Regions from separate parts of the Homo sapiens genome. Here all the other regions are linked to region 1. Evidence: promoter capture Hi-C in 16 types of primary human blood cells and fetal thymus (Javierre and others, 2016). All regions are on one chromosome and are shown on one strand. Each heading gives the region's core, a stretch centred on a gene start or on the middle of the fragment in contact. The rest is flanking DNA. Distances are from core to core; before and after follow the strand shown. Region 1 holds the start of WSB1 (WD repeat and SOCS box containing 1). Region 2 has its middle 7.8 kb from the start of NOS2. Region 3 holds the start of NLK (nemo like kinase).

The links. Contacts are between HindIII fragments. The CHiCAGO score rates a contact against its expected background, and 5 or more counts as called.
Region 2: a contact is called between a fragment that was not itself captured here and the fragment with the promoter of WSB1 in region 1, in 3 of 17 cell types (non-activated CD4 T cells, total CD8 T cells and activated CD4 T cells). The highest score is 6.6, in non-activated CD4 T cells.
Region 3: a contact is called between the fragment with the promoter of NLK here and the fragment with the promoter of WSB1 in region 1, in 1 of 17 cell types (erythroblasts). The highest score is 5.4, in erythroblasts.

What each region holds. Positions count from the first base shown.
Region 1 is chr17:27,291,781-27,295,399 of GRCh38, forward strand. It overlaps WSB1 (WD repeat and SOCS box containing 1), which reads left to right and starts at 2,334. Exons shown (of 9, transcript NM_015626.10): 1 at 2,334-2,655. The coding sequence starts at 2,616. It overlaps MIR4522 (microRNA 4522), which reads right to left and starts at 2,216; the gene lies at 2,130-2,216. RefSeq lists enhancers at 2,063-2,112, 2,483-2,542, 2,553-2,612 and a silencer at 2,153-2,362. The HindIII fragment of the contact is 5,795 bases long and covers 1-3,250 here.
Region 2 is chr17:27,806,297-27,810,392 of GRCh38, forward strand. No RefSeq gene overlaps it. Among named protein-coding and RNA genes, the nearest start is that of NOS2, 7.8 kb to the left of the region's middle. RefSeq lists promoters at 1-2,521, 1-4,096, enhancers at 1-236, 1-101, 18-37, 1,783-1,902, 2,516-4,096 and 1 more and a silencer at 2,438-2,600. The HindIII fragment of the contact is 3,513 bases long and covers 1-3,008 here.
Region 3 is chr17:28,040,375-28,043,991 of GRCh38, forward strand. It overlaps NLK (nemo like kinase), which reads left to right and starts at 2,303. Exons shown (of 11, transcript NM_016231.5): 1 at 2,303-2,957. The coding sequence starts at 2,500. LOC105371709 (a long non-coding RNA gene) reads right to left here and starts at 1,346. Exons shown (of 3, transcript XR_934637.4): 1 at 1,223-1,346; 2 at 852-1,030. It overlaps LOC102724517 (a long non-coding RNA gene), which reads left to right and starts at 2,964. Exons shown (of 2, transcript XR_001752820.2): 1 at 2,964-3,617. RefSeq lists an enhancer at 749-1,043 and silencers at 1,211-1,440, 1,461-1,690. The HindIII fragment of the contact is 3,107 bases long and covers 1-3,061 here.

The sequences.
Region 1 (3,619 bases), core at 1,084-3,583:
GGAAGGCTGAGGTAGGAGAATCACCTGAACCCAGGAGGCAAAGGTTGCAGTGAGCCGAGATCGTGCCACTGCACTCCAGCCTGGGCGACAGAGTGAGACTCCATCTCAGGGAGAAAAAAAAAAAGAAAAAGTCATCACAATAATTCACTGTTGGACACTCAAAAACTGGTATTTCCCATGAATTTGTATGGTATAGTACAAGTAACAGGGATAATAGCAGTTGGTTAAAAGAATTAACTCAGACTGATATGAATGTTGGTACATGAGCTACAAGACTGCATTAAAGTTTTTCTTTTGTTCTACTCTAAAAATTCAGCAACTAGGCCCAGTGCCTGATACAGAGTGAGTCCTCAAGATATCGTTGACTGAAGCTAACAAAGTGATTTATTGATTTATTTATTTATTGAGACAGAGTTTCACTCTTGTCACCCAGGCTAGAGTGCAGTGGTGCAACCTCAGCTCACTGCAACCTCTGCCTCCCGGTTTCAAGCAATTCTCCTGCCTTAGCCTCCAGAGTAGCTGGGACTTCGCCACTACGCCTGGCTAATTTTTTGTATTTTTAGTAGAGATGGGGGTTTCACCATGTTGGCCAGGCTGGTCTCGAACTCCTGACACCCGCCTCAGCCTCCCAAAGCGCTGAGATTACAGGCGTGAGCCACCGCCCCCAGCCTAACAAAGTGATTTTTTTTTAAAGACGAGGGGCAGGCAGGGCGCAGTAGCTTAACGCCTCTAATCCTAGCACTTTGAGAGGCCGAGGTGGGCAGATCACAAGGTCAGGAGTTCAAGACCAGCCTGGCCAATATCGTGAAACCCCCTCCCTACTAAAAGGATGAAAAAAATTAGCTGGGCGTGGTGGCAGCCACCTGTAGTCCCAGCTACTCGGGAGGCTGAGGCAGGAGAATCGCCTGAACCCGGGAGGCAGAGGTTGCAGTGAGCCGAGTTGGCGCCACTGCACTCTGCTCTGGGAGACAGAGCAAGACTCCGTCTCAAAAAAAAAAATAAATAAATAACCAAAAAAAAAAAAAAGGAGGGGCGATGTTTTATTAAACATTTCGCTATTTGAAGAATTAATACACTCATGCAAAGAAAAGATGAAGTAAACATGCCCTACAGTGTTATCATTTGAGATCTCTTAAAAGCGGCTATGCAGCCGGGCGTGGTGGCTCACGTTGTAATCCCAGCACTTTGGGAGGCTGAGGCGGGCGGATCACTCGAGGCCAGGAGTTCGAGACTAGCCTGGCCAACAGGGTGAAACGCCCTCTGTACTAAAAATACAAAAATTACCCGGGCTTGGTGTCACATGCCTGTACAAATCCCAGCTACTGGGGAGGCTGAGGCAGGAGAATTGCCTGAACCCGGGAAACGGAGGTTGCAGTGAGCCAAGATCACGCCATTGCACCCCAGCCTGGGAGAAGCGAGACTCCGTCTCAAAAAAAAAAAAAAAAAAAAAAAAAAAAGCGGCTATGCAACACTCTACTCTGTCCCATGAATATCTGCCACATATTTGAATTCCCAGTCTTATACGCCCCAGGCCTTTGCAATGTTTAGGGTCCACACGAGAAGCCATTAAAATGCAAATACGTCATCTGTGACCGGGAACCAAGCTGGCATCTAGCAGATACTGACACATTTATCAGTCTGATGTGTGGACAACTAGGTGCCTCCCAGAGGCCTTCAGGTAAGGTGGAGGAAGGGCCAATTCTGAGCTGACACAGTGGGATCCATCTTGGCCAGGACAGTGGGATCCATCTTGGCCAGGACAAAGGCAGTCCAGAGAGGCCCCGCGGCGCGGTGCGGCGCGATCACGCCCGAGTCTCCTTCTCGTTCCCCTCGGCCCTTCCTAAAACCTGCTGGCTCAGGTCTGAACAATCGCAGCTGGACAGGTGGTGCACAACGATGTTAATTTTCATCCTGTCTTTTTCATCAGTGCATCCTTCAGTTCCCTATTACTTGTGGGCTGGGGAGTTGGCCAAATTGAGTGAAAACCTGAAATGTCTTTTTGTTCTTTTGGTTCAGCCAGTTTAAGTTCCATGCAATCTTTAAGCTAGGAGGCTAATAATAATACAATTCTCTGCTTGCCCTTTTCAAAGCCACTTCAGCTTATAAACTCCATATTAGACCATCCAGGCCCAGAAGACGCCACCGGCCTACAGGCAGAGTCAGCGGAACCAGCCTGGGCTGGATCTCCCCCTGCGAGGCCCCCAGGCAACGCCCGCGCCGGGCCGGGGAGATCACGTCCCGTGCGTCGGGAGGCGGGGGCCTCGGGCTGTGACGTCACGTGGCCGCGCCCCTGCCGCCCAGATATCTCCGGCGCCGCCCGCCATTTTGACTCCAGTGTCTCGTTTGCAGTCGGCGCTTTAGGGGAACTGTCTTCCTCCGCAGGCGCGAGGCTGGGTACAGGGTCTATTGTCTGTGGTTGACTCCGTACTTTGGTCTGAGGCCTTCGGGAGCTTTCCCGAGGCAGTTAGCAGAAGCCGCAGCGGCCGCCCCCGCCCGTCTCCTCTGTCCCTGGGCCCGGGAGGGACCAACTTGGCGTCACGCCCCTCAGCGGTCGCCACTCTCTTCTCTGTTGTTGGGTCCGCATCGTATTCCCGGAATCAGACGGTGCCCCATAGATGGCCAGCTTTCCCCCGAGGGTCAACGAGAAAGAGATCGGTGAGGATTGGGACCGTGGGTGGGCGCATGAGGGCCGAGGAGAGGCAGGGACTCCCCGGAGGAGGTTTGGGAGGAAGCGACTCCAAGTCTGAGGGAAGAGCTCCAGTGCGCCAGGGCCAGCCCACTAGCGAGGAGGAGGAAGCCGCCTCGGTGGGAGTTGGCTGAGGGGTAAACGGCACCGACGTGGATGCAGCACCTACTGTGCTCCCTCGCGGTTGCTGTGTGGCTGGGGCGGGCAAGGACCCCGGTTTCTTCGTCGGAGGTCCGCGCAGGGCTCTTGTCCTGGGAGTTCTTGGCTCAGGGCATGACTGTCGAGTGGACAGGGAAGGGCCACTCAGGGACTTTAGGTTTACAATGGGGAAAAGTAAACTTGTGGGTTGTAAGCGGTAATGAAAGGAGGGGGTCCTCGTGTGTACCAACCACTCTTAGATAGAAATGAGATGGAAGAGGTCCCAACAGCCTGGCAAAAGCAATACAGTATTTTTAAAATGGTGTGGCCTTAAGAAACGCAGCGGTTCGGGGGAGGAGACTTTTAGAATTATCTTTCAAACACTTAAGGGAGGAGCTGGGTGGTTGGGTGGAGTGACAGAAGGAAAGCTTTTGTGCGGAAGAGGAAACTCTGGAAAAGGCTTTTCTGGCTTAGTGTCTAGCCCTGGTCGGCTTAGTAAAGGGCAATTAGTGTTGAAGGTTGTGCGTCCACACCTACTTAGTGGCTCAGTGGAAAGCACGTCGCATTATTTAAATCCTCTTTTAAAGTAAAATAACTGGAACAACGTTTGACGGTGTTGGGGGGTGCTGTACATTGGCTGATAACACTTAGCAAACACTGATCTTACTGTGTGAAGTAATAATTAGCTGCGGCCGCTGAGCAGAGAGCATTTACATTTTCCTACTCTTGAAGTGAATGTGTGCCTTTACTAAGTACAAGGAGGAGTTATTTCTAGAGAAGGGAAGAGGCTGAAGT
Region 2 (4,096 bases), core at 2-2,501, 510 kb after region 1:
GGCAGAGCAGCCTTCCTTGGTTCTGGGAAAGCCCTCTAGAATTCACAAAGTGCACTGGAATGAGACGAAGACAGACGTCACTGCTACAGGGGGTTTAGAATTGGGTCAAATGGAGGAAGAGAGGTACCTCCTCCCCAGGTACAGCCTCTGAGGGTGCTGGATGCTGATCCAAGAAGTTCTAAATGCCAAGAGCTTCAGCTAAGCCCACCCTCTTGTATCCTTCCCTAAGAAGCGCTGCATCTTTGGTTAGGCCACATAAGCCCTCCGGGCCTCCCTTTCCTCAGTTAAGGGTCTCTGAGGCCTTTCCAGCTGTGGTATCTGGGCTTTCTGAGTCTCCCCACCTCATACATATCTGGTCTTTGATGCTCTTGGAAAAGTTATCTTCCCCACCAGAGTGCCCCTGAAAGGCAGAATGTAGCAACGACTGGCAACTTCTGCAGAGCCTGACCACTGTGTGCACAGAGATGTCTGGAGCATCGCTCTCTACGAGAGCCAGAAACAACCCAAGTGATCAGCATAGAGAAAGGCACACCAGGCCAGCTTTATAGTGTACCATTACGTGGCCAAAAAAAAAGTGTATTAAGAATTTTTTGGCCAGGTGTGGTAGCTCATGCCTGTAAATTCTAGCATTTTGGGAGGCTAAGATGGGAGGATTGCTTGAGCCCAGGAGTTTGAGACCAGCCTTGCCAACATGGCAAAACCCTGTCTGTACAAAAAATACAAAAATTACAAAAATTAGCCAAGTGTGGTGGTGAACACCTGCAGTCCCAGCTACTCGAGAGGCTGGGGTGGGAGGATCGCTTGAGACCAGGAGGTCGATGCTGCAGTGAGCTGTGATTGTACCATTGCACCCCAGCCTGGGCAACAAAGTGAGACCCTGTTTCAAAAAAAAGGATTTATTTAGCTGGGCATCGTGACAAGCACCTGTAGACCTAGCTACTAACTGAGGTGGGAGGATCACTTGAGCTGAGGAATTAAGAGACCGCAGTGAGCTATGATTGCACCATTGCACTCTCCAGCCTAGGCAACAGTGAGACTCTGATCTCTTAAAAAAAAAAAAAAAGAGTCTTTATGATAAGAAATAATGTTCATGATATCAGTAGAAAAATGATAACCCCTAACATGTAAAATAAAGACAGAAAAAATGTGAGAAAAAAATACTAAAATATTAAAAAGTGGTAGAATTATGGGCAATAGTTATCTTTTCTTTACCCTTCTCTGTATTTGCTATCTGTGCATATGTTAGTTTTATAATATAAAAAGTGACTCCTTACTTTTTGAAATACTATCTCAGACGTGTGGCTGTGCCAGTAATTCACCTTTCCCAAAGGAAAAGAGCCTCTAGCACCCATTTTCATTACAGGAGGCACAGAGAGGGCGGCTGCCCACGCCCCTGGCTGTTCTGCAGGAGTTACACCGGTTTTCTGAGCATCGTCCGTGAGTTTTCCAAGCTGGGCCCTGGGGATCCAGTGGTGAGTGATGGCAGACAAGCTGGCTGTCTCTCTCCCTCCCCACTCTGCTGCCAATAGAGATGGCAAGATGAGTCCCAGAGCCTGTTGGAGGCGGTGCATTTGGGGGACAGGGGCTGCCTCCTTAAAAACAGAGTGGAAACCAGGGGGACAGGCCAAGTGCATCGAAATGCTAGGACGGTTGGCCAAAGCTGAGCGGCTCACTCTTGAAACAGAGGTGGGGTCTGGCTCTTGGTGGGTGAAGGAAGAATTGGAGGAAGGGAGGAAGGGTAATTCCTCCAGCAATTTGAGTGGGAGGCTGTGGGGGGCAAGCTATTAATAACGGCAGAGGCCACTGTCAGGCAGACTCAGGGACAAGTCTCAGGCCTGCCACCTAAATTCATCTGTGGGCATTGGAGAGGTTACTTTTGGTTTCAGTTTGCTTATCTGTAAAGTGTGGATAATCACAGAGTCCCCACCTCCTCAAGCCTTGGGGAGGAGTAGCGAGAGGATGTACGCAGCACCTGCCCTGCAGTTCAGCTTGAGCACGCTCCTATCTTGCCAGAGCCGGAGCGTAGCTGTAGCTTTAGCAGAGCAGCAGCACCGAGCTGGCTGGCTCTGCCTACTGCTATTCTCCCAGCACCTGGCACATGCTGGAGCTCAAGAAACAATGCCCAGCTGACTGCCAGGGCCTTTTTAATGTGTTATCTCATGCATTCCACACCACCACACTGTGAGGTGAGCTGTGTCAACCCTATTTTACAGATGACAAAATTGAGGCTTAGGAAGATTAAAGAATTTTTCCCAAGATCATACAGCTAAAGCTGCAGAACCAAGATTCAGGTCCATTTGATTCCAAATGCTTCTGGGAGGAGCATCTTAGGGACACCACCGGTCTGAGGCTCAAGGCAGCCCTCTCTCACCCAAGACCAAGCTCTTGTAGACAACAACTGTTTAAAGGGCAAAGACAGCTCCTGGGGAAGAGGCAGGAAAATCAATGAAATGATCTGTGATGCTGTCAGGGCCCTGGAGGAAGGACTGAGCAATGCAGGAGTTCCCCAGGGGCTCCCGGGAGGGCCCAAGAGGCCAGGTGGGGGCGGGGTTGGGCAGGGAAGCCTGGGGGAGTACTCTCAGAGGAGGTGACAGTCCCCAACAGGAGGAAAGGCTGTCCTCCTGCTGAGCTTACAAGGGAAGCTCCCATGCCGGAAGGAAGAACCTTGAACTTCTGCTTCCAATACCTGTGTCTAGCCTGTCTCATCCTGGCCTGCATTTCAGAGCTCCCCCCAACTCCAGGAGCTCTCTAGTAAGCCATGCCTTTGCACACACTGTTCCCTGTTGCTGGAATGTCCTTCCCGACAGCTCCCTAGCCCACCCTTGCCCTGACTCGAATCCCCTTCAGACTCTGCTTTACTTCATGGCATTGTTGCCTCTAGGGGCTCCCCTGACCCTCCATCCTCAAGCCCCTTGGGGTTCCCCAAATCCCTTAGGCTCCCCTCTCCTCAACACTGATCCCACTGTTTTAATTGTGGTCTCACTGCTCTGTCTCTTTTACTAGACACAAGCTTCCCAAGGCCAAGGTCATGTCTCACATCTCTGCAGCACCAGCAGCATGCTTGGCCCAGACTAGGTGCTCAGTGGATTTTGTTTTGTTGAGATAAAAAGTCACGTGCCATTAAATTCCCCCATTTAAAGAGTATAATTCAGTGGTTTTTAGTATATTCACAAAGTTATGAAACTATCACCACTATCTAATTCCAGAACGTTTTTGTCACCCCAAATAGAAACCCTGTACCCATTAACAGTCACTCCCTATTTCTTACCCCCAACTCTTAGAAACCACTAAATCTACTTTTTTTTCACTATAGATTTGCTTATTTTGGATGTTTTATACAAATGGAATCATATAATATTTGGCCCTTTGTGTCTAGCTTGTTTCACTTATAATGTTTTTGGGGTTCATTCACGTGGCATGTTTAAGTTCTTCATTCTTTTTATGGCTTAGTAATATTCCACTGTATGGATATACCACATTTTATGCATCCATTCATCAATTGATGGCCATTTGGGTTGTTTCTATTTTTTGGTCACTGTGAATATTGCTGTCCAAATATAAATGTTTGAGTACAGGTTTTTGTGTGAACATGTACTTTCAATTATCTTGGAATAGAATTGTTGGGTCATAGGGAAACTTTATGTTCAACTTTTTTGGGGTACTGCCAGACTATTTTCTGAAGTGGCTGCTGCACCATTTTATATCACTACCAGCATAGGAAGAGGGTCCCAATCAGTCCACATCCTTGACAACACCAGTAATGGGCTTTCTTTTTTGTGTCATATAGCTTCTAGTGGATGTGAAGTAGCCAATGGACCATTGACGAATGAGTGAGTGACAAACGGATGGATGGATGGATGGATGGATGGATGGATGGATGGACATATGGGAGTAGATACCTGACCCTGAGTTCTGAGCTCTGATTTTGGTGGGACAGCCTGCTTCCCTGAGGACCTGCATCAAGTAGAGACATAGCAACCTGCAGCCTGCCCCTGACCATCGTGGTTCCAGATGTCCAATCTGCCTTCGTCCTCGGTGGCTCTTAAGCACACAGGTGACCTGGATTCCCCTAAGCCTGTGGAAGGCCCTGGAGGGG
Region 3 (3,617 bases), core at 1,053-3,552, 750 kb after region 1:
AAGTGATGGAAAGATGCTATTTTAGTAAGATTTCAATGACAGAAACTTACTTGATAGAAAATATGGGAGAGGCTGGAGGCGGTGGCTCACGCCTGTAATCTCAGCACTTTGGGAGGCCAAGGTGGGAGGTGGGAGGATCTCTTGAGCCTAGGAATTTGAGACCAACCTGGGCAACATATTAAGACCCTGTTTCTAAAAAATTAAAGAATCAGCCGGGCATGGTGATGCACATCTGTAATCCCAGCTACTCGGGAAGCTGAGGCGGGAAGATTGCTTGAGCCGGGAGTTGGAGGTTGCAGTGAGCTAGGACTGTGCCACTGCAGTCTAGCCTGGGTGACAGAATGTGACCCTGTTAAGAAAGAAAGATAGAGGAAAATTATTATTTTTGTGGTCAAGTTTACTTTTTTTGTTTTAATTTGCACCAACAGCTTTATCATTTGTCGACAGTGGAGTTCTGAATGCCAGAGATTCCTCCTCTTTTTGCCAAGATCAGGATTAACTATGGAGAGGACCGGCCGTAGACTACGAACTGTCAGTCTACTGAGTTTCTGTCAGTCTTTTGAGTTTCCTTTGTCTTCTTGTTGAGTGACCTTGGACCTTGAGTTTCTGAAGCTCAACATTCCCTTTTTCTTCCCCTATTTTTTACCCCACACTTTACATCTTAAGTGGGATATTGGACATCTCGGATCAGTGGACCAGTGATGATTTGGACTCCGCCTTCTTCGTCTAGGTCCCGCCCACTTTAAGACCCCACCCCTTCCCTAAGCCCCGCCCCTTGAAGAGGTTGTCTCGATATGACAGCAAATTCTCCACAATCCTGTCCTATAGGAGATCTAAAGGGTGGGACTTACATCAACCTTTTTTTTCCATTTGTTTTTTCAAGTGTCTATTTGGCCCAGGTTCCATCCCACTTCATTTTCAACCCAAGGATTGGTTACTCTGTTCTTTGTCTCTGGCTCATGATTGGTTCTTTCGTTCCGCCCCTCTCTTCCAGCTTTTGCAGGCGGGATTACCACGCAGCTTCCTGCTCCTGCCAAAAAAAAAAAAATAAATAATAAAAGAAGAAGAAGAAAAGAGGAGAGAGGCGAAAGAAAAATGTCACAAAGATCTTTGCTTTTTAATTGGCTTTAAGCCTTGTCGGTCAAGCCAAACTCTGCCTTTGATTGGTCTTTCTATCTGCCCATCCCGGATCGGGGGCGGGATTTCCCCGGAAGACCCACACCTTGTTGCCACTGGCCGAACAGTGCGCCTGTCTGAAGCTCCTGGCCCAGGATTGGAGGCGGTGGCGGACAGGTGGGCGTGGATTGGCTAGGGCAGCCGGTCCGTGCAAGGCGGGGGCGGGGCCTCGGCGGCTGGTTGCGCGTGTCCGACGCTGGCTCCGCTCTATCCGGCTTTGCTAGGGGAGGTGAGTCCGGCCGCGGCGGAACCGGCGGCTGAGGAGGCGGCGGCTGAGGAGAAGGCGGCCGCGGCGGCTGAGGAGAAAGCGGCCGCGGGGACGGAAGCCGGGTGGGGGGGAGGGGGGGAGACGGAGCAGCCTTGAGCCCTGCGGGGCCGTTGCGCGGGGGACCCACCCGCTCTCCCCCCCAACCCTCCTCAGCAGAAGCAGCCGGCGGCGGGGGCAGGAGTCAGCCCGCTTCCGACCGTACCCCGCCCGCCTCCCGGGGCTCCTGTTCTTTGGCCCCGGGACCCTAACCTTCTCCCGGGGCGGTTCCCTCCGTCTGGGCGTCCGAGCGCTGCCCACATCTTTCATTCCTCCCTGCACCTCCTTCCCTTCACTTTTGCCCCGGCTCTCTTTCTCCTCTCTGTCCTGCTGTCGCCTCCTCTCCTCACTCCAGCCTCCTTCCCTGGCTTATTCTGCCCAGGAAAGTTTGGAACCCCCGCCCCCCCTCCCCAATCAGGTCAACCTGACTAGGAGTAGGGGGAGATGTAGGAAGGCCTGAGAGTTCGGGGGGGGGGAAGCTGGAAGCTGGTTTCCCAGAAAATTTCCCCCCATCTTCTCCATTTAGGGTGGTGGGAATTTTTTTTAATCCTGTTTTTGAGGAGGTGGTAGGTGTTTAGAAAAGGATGTGGGAATGGAAGGGGTAGATGAGTCAACCCTCTTTCAAGATTCCAAGGGTGGTGTGTTACCTGATCCTTTTCGTGTGTGGAGTTCAGGGGGTCGGGAGGTTTGGCCTTTATTCCCACATTCAAAGTTGGAACCTCCCCCAAATTAAGAATGGAGTTTTAGTACCCACTTGTGGCAGGAATCCTGGGGGGAAGGGGTCCTTTTTTCCTTTTTCTTTTCTTTTTTCCCTTTTTTTTCCTTTTGGCAACCCACACCCTTCCACACACGCTCACCCCAAAATTAAACACCAAGATCCTCTAACTTGTTTGGATTGACTGATGAAGACATAAAGCTCTATGTTTTTTGAGGTGGAGTGAGTGGTTTTTCTTCATTTTTAAATGGCCAAATGACAGCTTGACCCAGTTTGCTTTCCAATCAAAGGGCATTTATTTTGAATGTCTCTTTGTGGCGCAAGAGCCAACGCAAAAATGATGGCGGCTTACAATGGCGGTACATCTGCAGCAGCAGCAGGTCACCACCACCACCATCACCACCACCTTCCACACCTCCCTCCTCCTCACCTGCACCACCACCACCACCCTCAACACCATCTTCATCCGGGGTCGGCTGCCGCTGTACACCCTGTACAGCAGCACACCTCTTCGGCAGCTGCGGCAGCCGCAGCAGCGGCTGCAGCTGCAGCCATGTTAAACCCTGGGCAACAACAGCCATATTTCCCATCACCGGCACCGGGGCAGGCTCCTGGACCAGCTGCAGCAGCCCCAGCTCAGGTACAGGCTGCCGCAGCTGCTACAGTTAAGGCGCACCATCATCAGCACTCGCATCATCCACAGCAGCAGCTGGATATTGAGCCGGATAGACCTATTGGATATGGAGCCTTTGGTGTTGTCTGGTGAGTATCCAAAGAAAAACACAACCTCTCATGGTTTCTTCTGTTGGTTGTCATTGGATGAGTCCATCTCTAATGGTTGTCTCCATGTTGACCAAGGTGCAGCAAGCTTCTCAACCCAACTGTAGGAAGCCACCCTCACTTATGTGGTAAAGAGGCCTAATGCATTGGCTGTCTAGGCTCATGGCAAGTTTTGGTGGAGCGCCTTCTCATGAGCAACACACATAAGTGTGCTGTCTACCAAACTTTTCTATTAGAACCTAAGCAAGCCACTGAACACAGGATCAGTAGATGAATGTATGCAATACTAATTCCTACGAAGACCTTGGTCATCTCGTGTGTTTGATTCAGTGGCCCTGTGGCATTAAGTGTTAGCACCTGATCCAGACTGAATTCCTTTATAATACTCTTGTCATTAGGATATACTTTGCATAACTACTTTCCTGTCCTTTCTGTCTTTTCACTTATTTTGTGATCTTGATCTCCAGAAGAAAGATAGGATTCATAGTTGAACCAGTTAAGATCATTGCTTGAGTGGTTTATTTTAAACCATAAAGCTACAGTTGAGAAGTATGTAGCTGTAGCCTTTTGATAAGAATGCATTAAATATAGCATCACACATGAGTACCACAAATGAGGTTAGTAGACTAGCTATGCAGTGGC